Regions from separate parts of the Homo sapiens genome. Here all the other regions are linked to region 1. The links are contacts of gene promoters, found by promoter capture Hi-C in blood cells and fetal thymus (Javierre and others, 2016). All regions are on one chromosome and are shown on one strand. The core of a region is centred on a gene start or on the middle of the fragment in contact, and the rest is flanking DNA. Distances in the headings are between cores, read along the strand shown.

Evidence for each region. The method cuts DNA at HindIII sites, captures the fragments that hold promoters and counts their contacts. A CHiCAGO score of 5 or more calls a contact.
Region 2: a contact is called between a fragment that was not itself captured here and the fragment with the promoter of CD82 in region 1, in 3 of 17 cell types (total CD4 T cells, naive CD8 T cells and non-activated CD4 T cells). The highest score is 5.6, in total CD4 T cells.
Region 3: a fragment that was not itself captured here is called in contact with the fragment with the promoter of CD82 in region 1 in 1 of 17 cell types (total B cells); the score reaches 6.9 in total B cells.

Annotation. Positions count from the first base shown.
Region 1 is chr11:44,563,310-44,568,297 of GRCh38, forward strand. CD82 (CD82 molecule) reads left to right here and starts at 2,354. Exons shown (of 10, transcript NM_002231.4): 1 at 2,354-2,427. RefSeq lists a silencer at 1,853-2,452 and enhancers at 2,367-2,867, 3,373-3,442. The HindIII fragment of the contact is 9,090 bases long and covers 1-4,988 here.
Region 2 is chr11:45,354,245-45,359,232 of GRCh38, forward strand. It overlaps LINC02696 (long intergenic non-protein coding RNA 2696), which reads left to right and starts at 1,127. Exons shown (of 2, transcript NR_120558.1): 1 at 1,127-1,358; 2 at 2,152-2,413. The HindIII fragment of the contact is 6,359 bases long and covers 1-4,988 here.
Region 3 is chr11:45,334,492-45,339,479 of GRCh38, forward strand. No RefSeq gene overlaps it. Among named protein-coding and RNA genes, the nearest start is that of LINC02696, 18 kb to the right of the region's middle. The HindIII fragment of the contact is 3,103 bases long and covers 1,312-4,414 here.

The DNA of each region.
Region 1 (4,988 bases), core at 1,104-3,603:
CAAAAAGCATGCAGTTTATACATCACTCTCACTTAGCACCCTCCCCCTAACAACCCCCACCTGATAACCTTCATTTGGCCCCAAACAAAGAGCTTTGAACCCCTGTACACCCTGCATTCCACAGGATGGGCCGGGGTTCAAATGTTCCTCACAGATAAGGAATGAATCTCCAGGTTGGTCATTCCCGGATTCCTTAGCTCAAAACTCCAAACACACATTGGGGTGCATCTGCCATACAGGACCATTCTCAGGGTATGCTTAAGTCAAGTTATTGCTGTCAGGAGCATCTGCCATACACCATCACAAACACCCCCAGCTCGGAGGGAGCGGGGTGTGGAGTAGGGTGGAATAGGAGGAATTTTATGCCCATTTTGCATGGGCTGGGTAGGGTAGGGATCTGAAACCCAGCCCAAGACAGAATGGCACAGTGGTTCTCAAAGTGTGGTCCCCGGACCAGCATCCACATCATCTAGGAGCTTGTTAGGATCTTAACCACTTGCAGGATAGAGGGTGTCTCTCTGCGGGTATGACACACTGCTGGGTTTAAAGGATTCTCCAGCCTCACTTTTCTGACTTGGTGTGGGAATGCTATGAAGGAGACTTTTTGCTGAAAAGAGAACATTTTCTGAGCATGTACGGCATTCAAGCGGTGGGCCAAATACTTTATGAATGCTGTCACATGTAATCTTCAACAGCTACCATCAAGATCGGTATGATTGTTATGGCTCATTTTATTATTATTCCCTGTTTAAGGGCTCATCCCAGAGGTTAAGTATCTTGCCTTGTCCTGGGTTTAAAACGCAACCAGGAAGCTACCTAGGTCTGTGTGATTCTCAGACCACCCTGACTTCTTTACAGTTTGCTCAACAGTGGTTCATGCTTGAATGTGATTCAGAATCACCTGGAGGCCTTATTAAAACCAATTGTCCCACAGTTTTCCATTCAGTAAGTTGGGATGGGGCTTCAAAATACGCACTCCTAACAAGTTCCCAGATGATGTTGCTCCTGGTTCAAGGACCACGCTGTGAGAACTACAGTGCTGGGCTGGGATCCAGCTCCCGCCCTTACTCCACTCGTACAAAGCGCTCATAATCATACCCTCCCACAACGGTGTGTTGTGAGAGGACATTGTGATAATGGAAGTGAAAGAGCTTTGTCAGCTGCACAGGTGAATGCCCCTGGTCATTAACCAGGTAATCTGCCTGAGGCTAGTCCTCTGGAGCCTGGGAGGGCAGAGGGCTGGGACGCAGGGTGGGCACCGCAGCCACCTAGAGAGCTCTTGCAGCCCACCTCAATTTTGGGCCACTTTTTCTTCAGGGAGAAAGCCAGCTTTGAGGGCTTAGGCCCACAGCCCCTCCTGCCACTATTCTCATCAACCCACACCTCCTCCCTCACCTCAGGCAGCTGCTGGGCACTGCCCCAGCACTGGTTGTTCTGGGCTACTTCCCCAGGGGCCAGTCCAGGCAAGCTGGGGCAGCTCAAGCCTGTGACTCAGGACCTGAGGCTGGATCCCGCTCACGCCCGCCTCCATGAGATTCAGAGCCCTCGACTTCCCTTCTCTGAGCCTTAAACTGCGCATTAGTAAAATAGGCGCAACGAGAGTACCCATGAGTTGTGGGAATTCAAGGGCTAGAACTGTATTCAGCGCTTGGCATAGAGCCTGGCCCCTGGCAAGGATTCAATCAATGGTAGTCAGTATTTTCAAAAAGTTCCTGGGCCCAGGCCGCCTCCTGATAGAGGCCCCGACTTAGGACACAAACCGCTCCCACGCCGTTCCCCGGCGGCACCCGGATACACCCGCCCTGGAATGCCAGCGTGGGGGCCCCAGGGCTACCCGCCCGAGATGAGAGGGGCAGGGCAGGGCAGGATTAGGAAGGCGCTGAGCCCAGGCTGGTGCGGGGAGGGGCGTGGCCTCACCCTACTAGGGCCGGGGGATGGGGTGGGCTCGAAGGAGAAAGTGAAGGAGGCGGGGGCGCTGGGAGGGCCCGGGAGGAGACCGGGAGGACGAGGTAGGCGGGAGCTGGGCGGGACCGTTAGGCAGCGCCGTGAGTGGACAGGGCTGGAGCGGGGCGGGCTTAATCCCCAGTGTAACCTGGGGGCGGGGCTGCCGGGATAGAGGAGAGACTCCGTAGCGGGGCGGGGCCTCAGCTCCAGCTGGGCCCGGGGGCGAGGCTGGTTGGGGTACGGCCATAGTGGGCGGGGCCTGGCCGGCGGGAGCGCACCGCCTTCCCAAAGGGCTCGGGGGCGGGGCCGGCGGAGGGGGCGTGTCTTCTGGGGGCGGGGCCTGCCGAGTCCGCGGCGTTCCCCGGCTGCAGCCGGGAGGGGGCCGAGGAGTGACTGAGCCCCGGGCTGTGCAGTCCGACGCCGACTGAGGCACGAGCGGGTGACGCTGGGCCTGCAGCGCGGAGCAGAAAGCAGAACCCGCAGGTGAGCAAGGGGGCAGCGGGCCGGGGTAGCCTGCCGGACAACCATAGGCAAAGTTAGTTTTAGCCCCCGCTTCTGCGGTCCGGCTCGGACAACTTTCCTCGGAACTAGTGACAGGTCGGGGCAGCTGGTGGGTGAAAAGGAGCTTTAGCCACCAGTCCTGAACCCCCAGTTCTCACACTCGGCCGTGCACAGCTGCGTGATCCTGGGTCCGTCCCTCTACCTGGCTCTGGACCTCCCGGGTTCCAGCAGGAGGAAGTGAACCAGGTGAATTCCACGCTCCCGTTGCCCTTTCTCACTTAAAACGCCGGAAGGTGAGAGCTGGCAGGTGAGAGCAGGCTGCAGGTCGCCACAGGTGTTCCCATCGCGTTGCCCTCTGCAGTTTCTCTCCCTGCAAAATGGGACTGAGAGAAGCGAATTGCTTTAAAGAGTGCACTGTTTCCTCGGTTGGGGCTCGAACCCACCAACCCTGGGGAAGAGGAGGCCAAAGCAGGGAGGTTCCATTTCCCGCCTCACCTGCTTCCCACCAATTCTAACAGTTCAACTGAGCCGGACCCCCTAAGACTTCAAGTTGGAAACTCAGTGGGGCTTTTCCAGGTGAGCTGGCCTGAGCAGGAGGTTGGAAACTGGGGAACAGTTCTTACACTGGTGAGTGGGGAAGAGAAGGGAAAACCCCACCAATCCTTGGGCCCAGGGTCAAGCCCAGGGCCCCAGGGGCCCTTGAAGCATACCCGGGGTTAATTTCTTGGCTGACGGGTTCTGTTCCTGGAGGTGGTGGGTGCTCTGTGCTGGGCCCCAGTAGCGGGGCAGCATAGTTCTGTGGTCAAGGCTTGGGCTTTGGGATCAAACTGATTTGGATTCCATTCCCCCTCCAAACTTCAGTTTCCTCACCTGTAAAATGGGGATAATGACAATATCCAATAGCAGGAGCAAGCACTAAATAGAATAATGTGTATACACTACTTAGCAAGGTGCCAGGAAACCAGTGAGACCTCCCTCTGTGACAGCTGCTTTGATGCGGGTGGGCAGGTGATGGGCTTGCTTCCTATGGGGAATGAGCCTTTTTTTTTTCTTGGAGAGATGGGGTTGGCTACAGCCCCTCCTGACCTTGTGAAAGCCAGAAATTGCCACCTGCCACCAACATCACTCTATTTGAGGGATGAGGACTGTGTCATCTGGAACAAAGAGTGGCTGAGTTTTCTGTAATGTTGCTTGAGGTTGGTAAGTGTTGAGTTAAATAAGTCTAAAAATGTTTACTGAGCACCTACTATATGCTAGAGAGAGCTAGAGGATACAGAGGTGAACTAGCCAGGCCTGAGTTGCTGACAATGAGGGCTCCCCCATCCCTACCATGTCCCTGTAGAGAGGATCAGTCACACCCAGGGCTTATAACCAGATGAGATTTCATGGGTCTGTTCTGCCCTGGTGGCTGGAATCCAGCTATACCATTGCACACTTGGCTTGGGATGGGGGCGAGGGGCAATGTGGGCACCCGATATCTAAGCAGGGTTGGACACTGAAGGACGCTGAAGGTGCTGCATTATATTGGCTCCCTGCATCTTCTGGGAGATAAGCTGTACAGTATGGAACAAACTGGAAAGTGCTGTGGGACAGAGACGGACTGGCGGCTGCGCTGTGTGCAGGAGACTGTGTGTGTATGTAGGGCAGGGGGAGGTGTTCAGAAGAGTGAGACACTTGAGAAGCCAGGGCAGGGGGTGGGGGTAAGGAGGCTTCCTGGAGGGGGTGAGACTTGAATAGGACTTTCTCTCTGGGCTCCTGGTCCTGGTTTGGCTTGGATCAACATGGGACCACAGTCTCTTCAAGCACTGAAGTGGCATAAATTGGAGTTTGGTATGGTGGGGAGGGAGAGGGTCTGGTAGGTGGTGCCTGAGGTGGGGAGGAGGAGACGTTCATTTCAACAGAGCCTACCTAGTGAGCCTTAATGGAAAGCCCTCCCCACCACCACCCCCACTTCCTGCTCGATGAATGACAAGCGACCACATAAGGCCTGCACCCTCAGGTTGCTTACCATCCGGGAAGGGGCTTACACAAGAATACCAGGGACTCTGATGGAAGATAAATGAAAAAAGGATTAGAGGGATCTTCAGGGCCTTACAGACTGGGAAGATTTCGGCAGCCAGAATGAAGATAGTGTCTTGAGGAGAGGAAAATGCCTAGGCAGAGGCAGGGAGGTCAACCTGTCCTGAGAATTCTCGAGAAACCTCTAGGTTGCTCATTCTGGCTGAAGTTTGGGAACGTGTGGGGATATGCAGTGGGAATAGTAGGTGGGATCAGCTTACGGAGGGCCTTGAATGACAGGATAAGAACTTTGGATCTGATTTGCAGAAAGTGGGAGCCACTGAAGGTTTCTGAGGAGAGGAGTGACACAACAGAGCAGCACTTTAGGAAAGTCAGTCTGTACCAGATGTGCTGGGGTGGAGGATCCAGCGGTCAAGGGATAATGAACCAATGGCTGCAGTGACTGGGAAGAAGGGGTCTGGGTGGCTTTGGGGATGTCTGCAACTGGGAGTGAAGGAAGAGACACCAGCCACAGGGAGAGCAAA
Region 2 (4,988 bases), core at 1,359-3,858, 790 kb after region 1:
CAAACTTCCCACACATCAGCTTCTTCTCCTGTGGTTCCCTTTTAGTATGTGATGGCCCAACATTCTCCCAGCTATCAGCCCAGAAGCCTGGCAGTCACCCCAACTCTGCAAATTTCACACACCCAATCCACCACCACCACTGCCGCCACCTGCTTCCCAATGATCTCTCTCTCTCCCTCCCTCCCTCCTGTATTCTTCAGCTGTGGCCTGAGTCCAAGTAACCAAAGTCAAGAAAAGCAGGGCCATGTACTCTGTACTCACCAGCCTGGTGCTTGAAACCCTCAACTATTGTAAAGTGGTTATGTTAATGAAAAGGGGTCCCCATCCAGACCCCAAGAGAGGATTCTTAGACTTTAAGCAACGAAGAATTTGGGGCAAGTTCAAAGAGTAAAGTGAAAGCAAGTTTATTAAAAAAGTAAAGGAATAAACGATTGGCTACACCATAGGCAGAACAGCGGCATGGGCTGTTCAACTGTGTATACGTTATTTATTGATTATACACTAAACAAGGGGTAGATTAGTCAAGAGTATTCTGGGGAAAGGAGTGGCAATTCCCAGAACTGAGGGTTCCACCCTCGCCTTCAGATCATATAGAGTAACTTCCTAACATCGCCATGGCATTTGTAAATGCTCATGGTGCTGGTGGGAGAGTCTTTCAGCAAGCTAATGTATTATAATTAGCATATGATGAGCAGTGGGGACAACCAGAGTTCACTTTCATTGCCAATCTTGGTTTTGGTGGATTTTGGCCGGCTTCTTTAAGTATCCTGTTTTACCAGCAGGGTCTTTGTGACCTGTATCTTGTGCTGACCTCCCTGTCTCATCCTGTGACTTAGAATGCCTAACCTCCTGGGAATGCATCCCAGCAGGTCTCCACCTTCTTTTATGCAGCCCCTATTCAAGATGGAGTCCCTCTGGTTCAAACGCCTCTTGACAGTTCATCTTTTCAGTGTTTCCGGCTAGGAAATTTAAATGTTTGTCCATCTATTCACTGGGCTCTGAAGCACTCATTTAGTACACTGAGAAAGGAGAGGGAGGGGGGATGGGAGGAGGGGAGGAGCAGAGAAAGGAGAGGAGGCGGAGACGGTTAGTCTAGCCTCTCTGTGGGGCCTCTCTGCTGGTACCCAGATGCTGAGCGCTGAAATTCTCATCCGCCACACACAACATGGCGGCTTCCTGGACCCGCGCCCAATTTTCGCTTCCGGGATGGAAGCTACGTCATTTCCCCCTCTGTTGCCCTAGCGCCCCTTGGAAGCCAAGAATATGAGGAAGTCTTCTTCCTTCGCGCCTTCTTCTTCCTTACGCTCCAGGGCAGCCTGACAGAGCCGCTCGAAGGCTCTGCTGGCCGCGGCTAGCCGGTGAGGAGGGTGGGGGGAGGGGCCGTCCCGCGTGTGGGGGAGTCTGAAGGCGACCAACGAGAGGGAGGGCCGGAGCGGGGAGGTGGCTCGGAGGCATGTCCAGTAAATTGGGGATGAAAATCCTCCCAGGAACCCGATTATTAATGGGTTGAGGGAAGTGGCAGGTGCAGCGGTTGCGCAAAGACAATGATGCTTAGTAGCCAGGACTTCATGGCCACAAAATTTGTGTGTAGAGAGGGCCACAGCAGCCTGAAAACCATTTTCGTCCCCTTTTAGGTTTACCCATTCCACTGGACCCAGCCACCACCCACTCCTGCTGTCTGGTAAACTTTCCTCCTGTTTCTGGGGCCATGTCTGGCATGAAGAGTTTTTACTGAATAGTTTTCATTGATCGCAGGCCAGTTCTCTCTTCTCACCCCTTTATTGAAGTGACAGTGAAAATCTAAGTGAGAAAGCACTGTTACAGGGGCTGAAAAGGCTACAGGAGACCAGAGCCATTGACTTTTATTTTTAAAATGAAGATCTCTTTTACTTGAAGGAACTTAAGAATTTTGGCATTCAAATAGGGGCTGGAAGACTTGAAAGCAGTAGAAATTTCACCACAGGTGATAGGAAAGGATGATCACGAAATGAATATCTCCTGACTTGCACACCTAGTGAGCAGAGCCAGGAAGGACCTCCTTCACCTTAGCATTTGGAACAGGCTGCAAAGTTCATTCTTCCTCATAGCAGCCCCTGCATTCAGTTTGGTTTAGTTGTTTTATGTGGTTTCTAGCCTGATTTTTTTTTTCAGGGTGCAGCAGAAGTCTCAGGTAGCTGAGAAGTTCATGGAATCTTCTTATTTGCTACACCTTTCACTACTGCTTGTGATATAGTGCAGGGTTGGGATGTGCAGACATTTCTCAAGTGCACTGTGTACCTACACAGCATGCTGCAATTTGGCTACTGAAGTCAAGAGAAACTGGTTTGAACAACTACTGAGTGTAACATAGGAAGCGCATTTCATTTGATAACAGGAACACAGCTTTTGTGCTAATAAAATGCTTTGAAAATTAGTGTGTGGTCTTTAGTAATTAGCATATACATTTTAGTTATCCATTGGTTCATAACAAACGGACTAAATAGGTACCCCACTGAGTCATTTATCTAAATGAAAAGTTTGGTTAAATTGTAGTTGTAGGCATTGATCAAAGCTAATGGGAAAAAGAGATTAAGATGAAAATCATGGGATTAAATTTTTAATTAGTTTGCCCCTTGGACCGTTGCTTGGTATGACATGGAGATTGATTGGCTACTTATGCCTGCCTGGGAAGATATGGCTCTGCTACCAAACCTCTGAACGTAAGAGTGTTTTGCAAAAAAACTGAATATTTTATTCAGTAATTTTTCACTTTATTCCTGCTTAACAAGGAATTGAAAAGGAAGGCAAGGTCTTGGATCTCATAGTTCTTGGTATAGTGATAGATATAAAGTATGAGATGGGGGCTTCAGTGGGTTCATTAATAAATATCTCAAATTAACATGTCTAAGTCAAACTCTTCCTTTCCTGCCCCCAATCTCTTCCTCTCCCAGGGCTCCTTATGTCAACTAATGGTGCCATCATTAGTGCACTCAAAGCAAAAACCTGGGAACAATCTTGATTCCCTCTTTCATTCCCCACAGCTCACCCATCAACAAATTCGATCCGCTTTTATTCTAAAATATATCCTAAATCCATTCACTGTTCTTATCTCCACCACCCTAACCCAGGCATCATCATCCTTTACCTGGTTAACTGCAAGATCCTTTTCATTTAACTTCCCTGCTTCTAATCTTCTGACCCATTTTCACCATCCCAGTCCATTCACCACACAGTAGCAGCCAAAATATTTGTTTAAAATGTAAGTTAGATTCTATCACTTTTGTGTTTAGAATTATTGTCTTCCCCCACTAATTACTGTGCCCTATGTGATCTGGACTCAATCTGGTACCACTCCCTACCCCTTCACTCACTATAATCCAGACATACTATCTTTCTTTCTTCAACCTGCCAAGTTTTATCCTGCCTTAGGGTCCTTGCACTAGCTGTTCCCTTTGCTGGAACCCTCTTCACCCAGTTATTGCAGAGCTGGCCCTCTCTTGTTTAGAGCTGAATTTCAATGTGACCTCTTCAAATAAGTCCTCCCTTGACCACCCAAACTCATGTACCCCCTTGTTACTCTCTGTCACGTCATCCTGATTCAGTTTCACCACAACACTCATCATTACTGCTATTTTCTTGTATCTTCCTTTGTTTATTGACTGTCTCCTCCCATTAATATGTAAGCTCCCTGAAAATAAACATCTTGTCTATATTGTATGACTGTATCCCCAGAACTTCAAATAGTCTGTGACATATGAATGAATGAATGAATGAATGTACGAATGGATTCTGCTTCCCCAAAGCTGCTGCCATCTCATCTCAGGTACATTGAAACAGGAAGGCTGGTAAAGGCCAGGGGGTCAAATGCTACATAGAGTGGAGCCTGAAGCACAAGATGTGGGCAAAGACACAGTGGAGAGGGGCAAGAAAAGCATTTGGGATGGAGGGCAGAGGGTCTGGGAAGGAACATGGAAATGATATAGAACAACTCTACAGATATGTCCTAGACATCTTAAGACTTGTACAAGCATGCGTGTGCCCGCACATACACACATACCAGCTTGAAGAATCTTGTCTCAGCACATGCTCTGTACTTGAGTCTTAGAGAACACTTTTCTTGGTAGAGATGTTTAGGCTTCAGCATTAAGGAGTCTGATTCAGAGGTCTAGGTAGGGCCCATGTGTCTGTGACTGCATAATACTTGTAAACTGGTCTCATTCTTGGTCAGGACAATAAGGCTGCAGTAAATCATAGCAGCTGGGAGAAAGTAGTGTGGTATCCTGCAGTGGTTCTGTTCACCACCACATGGGCAGAGCATGAGCAACTTTCCTTTCCTGGGCCCTCGTTCTGCTCAGATACAAAGTGAAGGCTTACTTGGGCTCCTGTGCAACTTTAAAAGTGAAACTTAACTGAAATTGGGCAGGTGGGCTGCACTTCTTCTAAAAAGTAAGAGGCCCACTTTTTAGAAAATATTAAACCTTGGATTACACCTCAGTTTGGCAGTTACATGACACATTATTTCTAAAGAGCCATCTAATTTTATGCCATCTAATGTTTATATTGATAACTGATGAAAATACAGGAGCTTATTATGCCACTGAAACTACGATGAAGTGGCTCAAATTTATTCTCTCACTGTAGGTTGGATTTGAGGGGATAAGGATAAGAGAGAAAATACTATTGGTGCTCAGGTTAAAAAAAGAAAAAGAAAAAAATGGAGCTTAGACTTTAATCTTTTCATAAATCTTCCTCATCCCCAATTGTTCAGCCAAATTCAGAAGGATTAGCTTTCCATCTTCCATGAACCTTTTGGTTGGATCTTTTGTCAATCTTTTTCCCCTTTGAGGCTACCTCGATGTTTAACAAAAAAAAAAAAAAAAGAACTACAAACTTCATTCAGATCCAGTTCAGGGTCCTACATAGCATTTAGTTTTTATGTCTTCTCCAATCTGTGATGGTTCCTCATTATTTCCTTGTCTTTCGTGACCTTAACACTTTTTAAGAGTACT
Region 3 (4,988 bases), core at 1,613-4,112, 770 kb after region 1:
CCACCGCGCCCGGCCCCTTCCTTAAGTTGCTTGATTTGAGATGTTGCTGTTCATGATGTTTCTCCATACCAGTCCTTAATTTTGACCTCACCTCTGCCTCCATGTGTGAGAAGGTTGAGTAGGAGGCGGGAGGTGGTAGAACGTTCCAGGGCTTCAGCACAGCCGGGCCTGCTCCTGGCAGGGCAAAATAGATGAGGCGTTCACCAGGACGGTTAGACTGAAATCCTGTTTGGCCACTGAAAGCTGAAGAGGCAACCTCGTGGACTGTTTTTCAGTTATGTACCAGTCTGAAAGGCATTGGAGGAAATGTGGAAATGCATCCAGCAATGCAGCTACTGTTCACTTGAGTTAATAGAAGAGGGAGCAGAGCTTCAAGTGCCAAATGGAAATAATTTTGTAGATGACTTGAAAAGAAATTTAGTAAGGACTTAAATCCGAAATCATAGCCTCCTTGTTGTTAGAAAGTGAGGGAGTTGCAGTTACAGACACAAAGGAAAACAGCACAAAAATGGAAGGAAAGCCAAAAGGGCCCACGCAGAAAATTTAACACAGGATCAGAGGCCCCAAGAGAGAAGCAAAATCCTAATACACATCCTCTATCCGAGAAGCAGATGGCAGCTTAGAAGGAAAATGCGGTAAGAGATGGCAGGCCACAGTGTTTCTGGAAAGGAGGACCGTCCTTGAATTATGACCTCTTCTTAATTTTGGGGTGGATTTCCTGATGGAGGGTGCTTTTTGAACATTCTGTACCTGAGGTCTTTTTTTGTGCTAAGGAAAAATAGGAAAATGAATTCGAGTTCCCCTAAACCAGAGTGGGGTCGCTCATTCCTAACAATCAAGATTCAAAGAGAATGAAAAGATGCAACCCTCTGTACCTTAGTTTCTGCATCTGTAAAAGAGAAATTAGTGCCTGTGTGACTCAGTTGGGCACACATTCCTATTCCTTCTAGACTACCTTCCTGCACTCTAGAAACTGCAAAACTGAAAACCAAATTTGAGACTCCTTTGCAGCTAGAGTGCAGGCACATGGCCTGCTTTCCACCAACCAGTTACACTCATTCAGGACTTGCATGTGGAAGTGAGTGGTGCAAGAAGGCTGGGAGCCTGGACCTGCTGGAAGGCACAGAGGCAGGGGTGCTGGGTGTTCTGGGAAATTGGGAGGAGTTTTGACTTCAGTCCCAAACATCATGAGTGTCAGTTAACAGGTGGAAGCAGCAGAGGGCTCTCTGAACAGCTCTGCAGAGAGTGGGGGCATTTTAAGGGCTTGGCTGACTCTGTTGTCCAGGTCTGTCCTGGTCTGAGTACCATTTAAGCTTGATTCTGTGGTCCCCCCAAAAAAGTCCATTAAGTATTTAATAAATACATTTTAATAGATCTCTGTCAGCATGAACTTGCTAATGTGGACTCTGTTGCCTGCAACCAAGGACCTTGGCCTTAACCACACATAAAGCATTAGATCAGTTCCTGGCACGTGGCAAATCCTCACTATATATTAGCTACCATTCTGTATTATTTGAATGCTCTACAAAGAGATGGTACATCTGCTCTTATTTAGCAAGCATAGGTGTTAGAGTTCATCAATTTCTTTCAAAAGGAAGTGAACGCGCACATTACTCTCCCCTGGGAGTGCAAAACTCAATCCTGCCAACTCAAGGTAAACTGTCACTGTCAGGTGCTCTCAAGCTCTGTCAATTAAGGCTCCTTCCCCTCTGTCCTCTCCAGGCATTGGTGGTGTGAGGGGCACTCCCCTTCCCCTCATCTAGTTCCCTCCTACGGAGCATCCGAGGTTGATGTAATTTGCCAGGCCTGTGTATTGATGTCTGATATCATCTGCATTCACTGCTGTCACAGCCACTGCCACTCTGTCTTCCCTCATCAGGTACCTAAGCGTCTGCACCCCCTGCGTCCCATTGCTAGGCCTCTCCAGGTTCACCCACCAGCTTTCTGCCATTTCTATCCCTCCTTGAGGATTTGGGGATGTGAGTGTTTGAGGCCCTCTCATTAACAGGTCCATCACAGGAGTCCTCACCTGGCACAGTGTGGTGGCACAGTGTCCACCACAGCTTTTCCTGGGCAGAGAGGCGCAGGTCTCCTCTGCTTCACTGTCTCCCACCCACCCGCATCCCAGGCTTTCTCACAGGTCCCTGGCATCTGTGGGTTCTAGTTCCAACCCTTCGATCCTCCTTCCACCTCCCAAAACTGAACTTTTGTCTCCTTTTGAGTAGGAACTTTATTCATTTACTATTGAATATTCTTTCCTACTCTATGGTGTGGTATAAAATCTATGCTGTCAGTCCCCCAGACTACCTTTTTTACCTTAAAAAACATGTTTTCTTCTCAAGAACAAAGTCCTGGCTTTTTCTAAATGTATTCAAGAATTTCTTCACCAAATATTGTTGGAACACTTGCTGGGGGGGGGCAGACACTCTCTGGGTTGTACGGACAGACAGACAGTTGCCTTCCAGTTGGGGAGATGGGCGATAATCATATGCAAAAGTCAATTGCCTAATTTCTTTTTTTTTTTTTTTTTTTTGAGACAGAGTCTCGCTCTGCCGCCCAGGCTGTAGTGCAGTGGCGCTATCTCGGCTCACTACAAGCTCCGCCTCCCGGGTTCATGCCATTCTCCTGCCTCAGCCTCCTGAGTAGCTGGGACTACAGGTGCCCGCCAACACGCCTGGCTAATTTTTTGTATTTTTTTTAGTAGAGACAGGGTTTCACCGTGTTAGCCAGGATGGTCTTGATCTCCTGACCTCGTGATCTGCCCGCCTTGGCCTCCCAAAGTGCTGGGATTACAGACGGCCGTCAATTGCCTAATTCTTTTCTTTCTTTTCTTTTTTTTTTTTTTTTTTTTTTTGAGACAGGGTCTCACTCCTTCACCCAGGCTGGAGTACAGGGAATGGCATCATCATATAGTTCACTCATAGCCTTGAACTCCTGGGCTCAAGCCATCCTCCTCCCTCAGCCTCCCAATCAGCTAGGACTACCTGTAGGTACGTGCCACCACACTTGGATAACTTTTATTTTATTTTATTTTATCTTATTTTATTTTATATTGTGTAGAGATGGGGTCTTGTTCTGTTGCCCAGGCTGGTCTCAAACTCCTAGCCTCAAGTGATTCTTTAGCCTTGGCCTCCCAAAGTGCTGGTATTACAGGTGTGAGCTGTGGTGCCCAGCCACCTATTTATTTTCAATAGAGCGAATGCTTTGCTGGAGTATTAAGTATAAACTATACTTTATATTCAATATTCCAGCAAAGTATTTTATATTGAGTATAAAATGCTGAGTATCAATTTTATATTGAGTATAAAAAGGGGTAAAGTGACAGAGCGCTGGGCAGTGGGAAGGGGTAGTTATGAAACAGACTCACTGTGCGCTAGTTACCACTTCAACCCACTTGATCTTGGGTTGCACGTTCACTACTTGCCCAAGTTCTGTGAAACAGAACACTGAAATACACAAGTTACATGAGGAAATACACAAGTTATTACTTATAGATAGTCAGCAAGGGACAGCAGCAGCCTAGAATTCATGAGTATCAGTCTCCAAGCCTCAGGAAAGCTGCCCAGATGGAGTCTTGTCTGCACATGCCCCACTTGCACCACAGCTGCGGAGCCCTGAAGGCAACCAGCCCTGGGTTTTAGACCACGGGGTACAGGACTTGCTGGGTCAACGCATTGAAGGACACCTTGTTTCTAATAGTGACTGAAGCAGAGCCTGGCCTGCTCAGACCAGTCCCGCCCTATTCCAGATGTTGCATTTCCAGCACATTACACAGCGATTCTTGGGAGCTATGACAGAAAAGAGGGAGAACTGGGTCGGTCCACAGCCATCCAGAGAATGGTCTTGCAGTAGTGCTGCATTGAGTCAGATATCCAGGAAGGCCTGGTAGACATTTGAACCCCAATCTAAGTGCCAAGAAGAATCCCCCGGAGAGGGATCAGGTCAATGCCTCCAAATGGAACAGCAAGAGCAAGAGCCCCGAGAAAGAAATGAGCTTGGCCTTGGTCACAGATAAGAAAGAAGGCCAGCGGGTTTATTGAATGGTGAAAAGAGAGTGAGCAAAGATGACCTCAATGGGTCACTGGGCCAGATTTCGCAGCACCCTTTTAGCATGCATGGAAGCTGTGGATTGTTTTGTTAAACCCTAGAAGATTGAAGTAGAGAAGTTATTTGCATTTTAAGAAAATCATTTTAATTATAGAAAAATGGTTGATTATAAGAGGGCAAAAAAGCATGGGCGAGCAGGGAAAAGGTAACTCTAGGAGGCCACACGGGTGATGAGGGTAGCCCGAACTTAGAGGGTAAAGATGGTGAGATGTGGACCATTCTGGATACATTGTAGGGGAAGGATTGAAGGGACTGCTGCTGGGCTGATTAGGCGGTGGTGAGATGCAGAGGCAGGAGAGGCTGAGGAAGCTTAAACCCCTGCATACTGTCTGGAATGACTGAGCCAGTTCTACAGAAGTGGCAACACTTAGACATTAGCCCAAATGCACTTCCTATATAAAAGCCCTGTGTGTGCTTCCTGTGTGCTGTGTGTGTGCTCTTCACATGCGTGTGTGTGTGTGTTTTTCAGCTAGCAGATTCACCTACTCTCATCCTCTCTCACTAGAATGTTCCAGTGCCCAGCAGGTTGAGCAGGGAGCAGAGGGGTGGAGTAGTACTCATCTCTGGCCAAATCGGCACAGGCTCACCCATTACACTGTTTACTAACATCTGCACTTACAGGGTCCTTGCCATGTGCCACATGCTGTTCAAAGTGGCCTACCAATATTAACACACGTAATCCTCAGAACAGCCCTAGGAAATAAGTGCTATTATAAATCCTCATTTTACAGGTAGGGAAACTGAGATTCCAAAAGATGAGGTGGGAGGCCGAAGGTCACATAGCTCATAGGCAGCAGAGACAGGATTTGAACCCAGGGTATATGATGTCAGAGGCCAGGCTTATCAATCACCTATTCCAGGGATGGCAAGGGAATACAGGC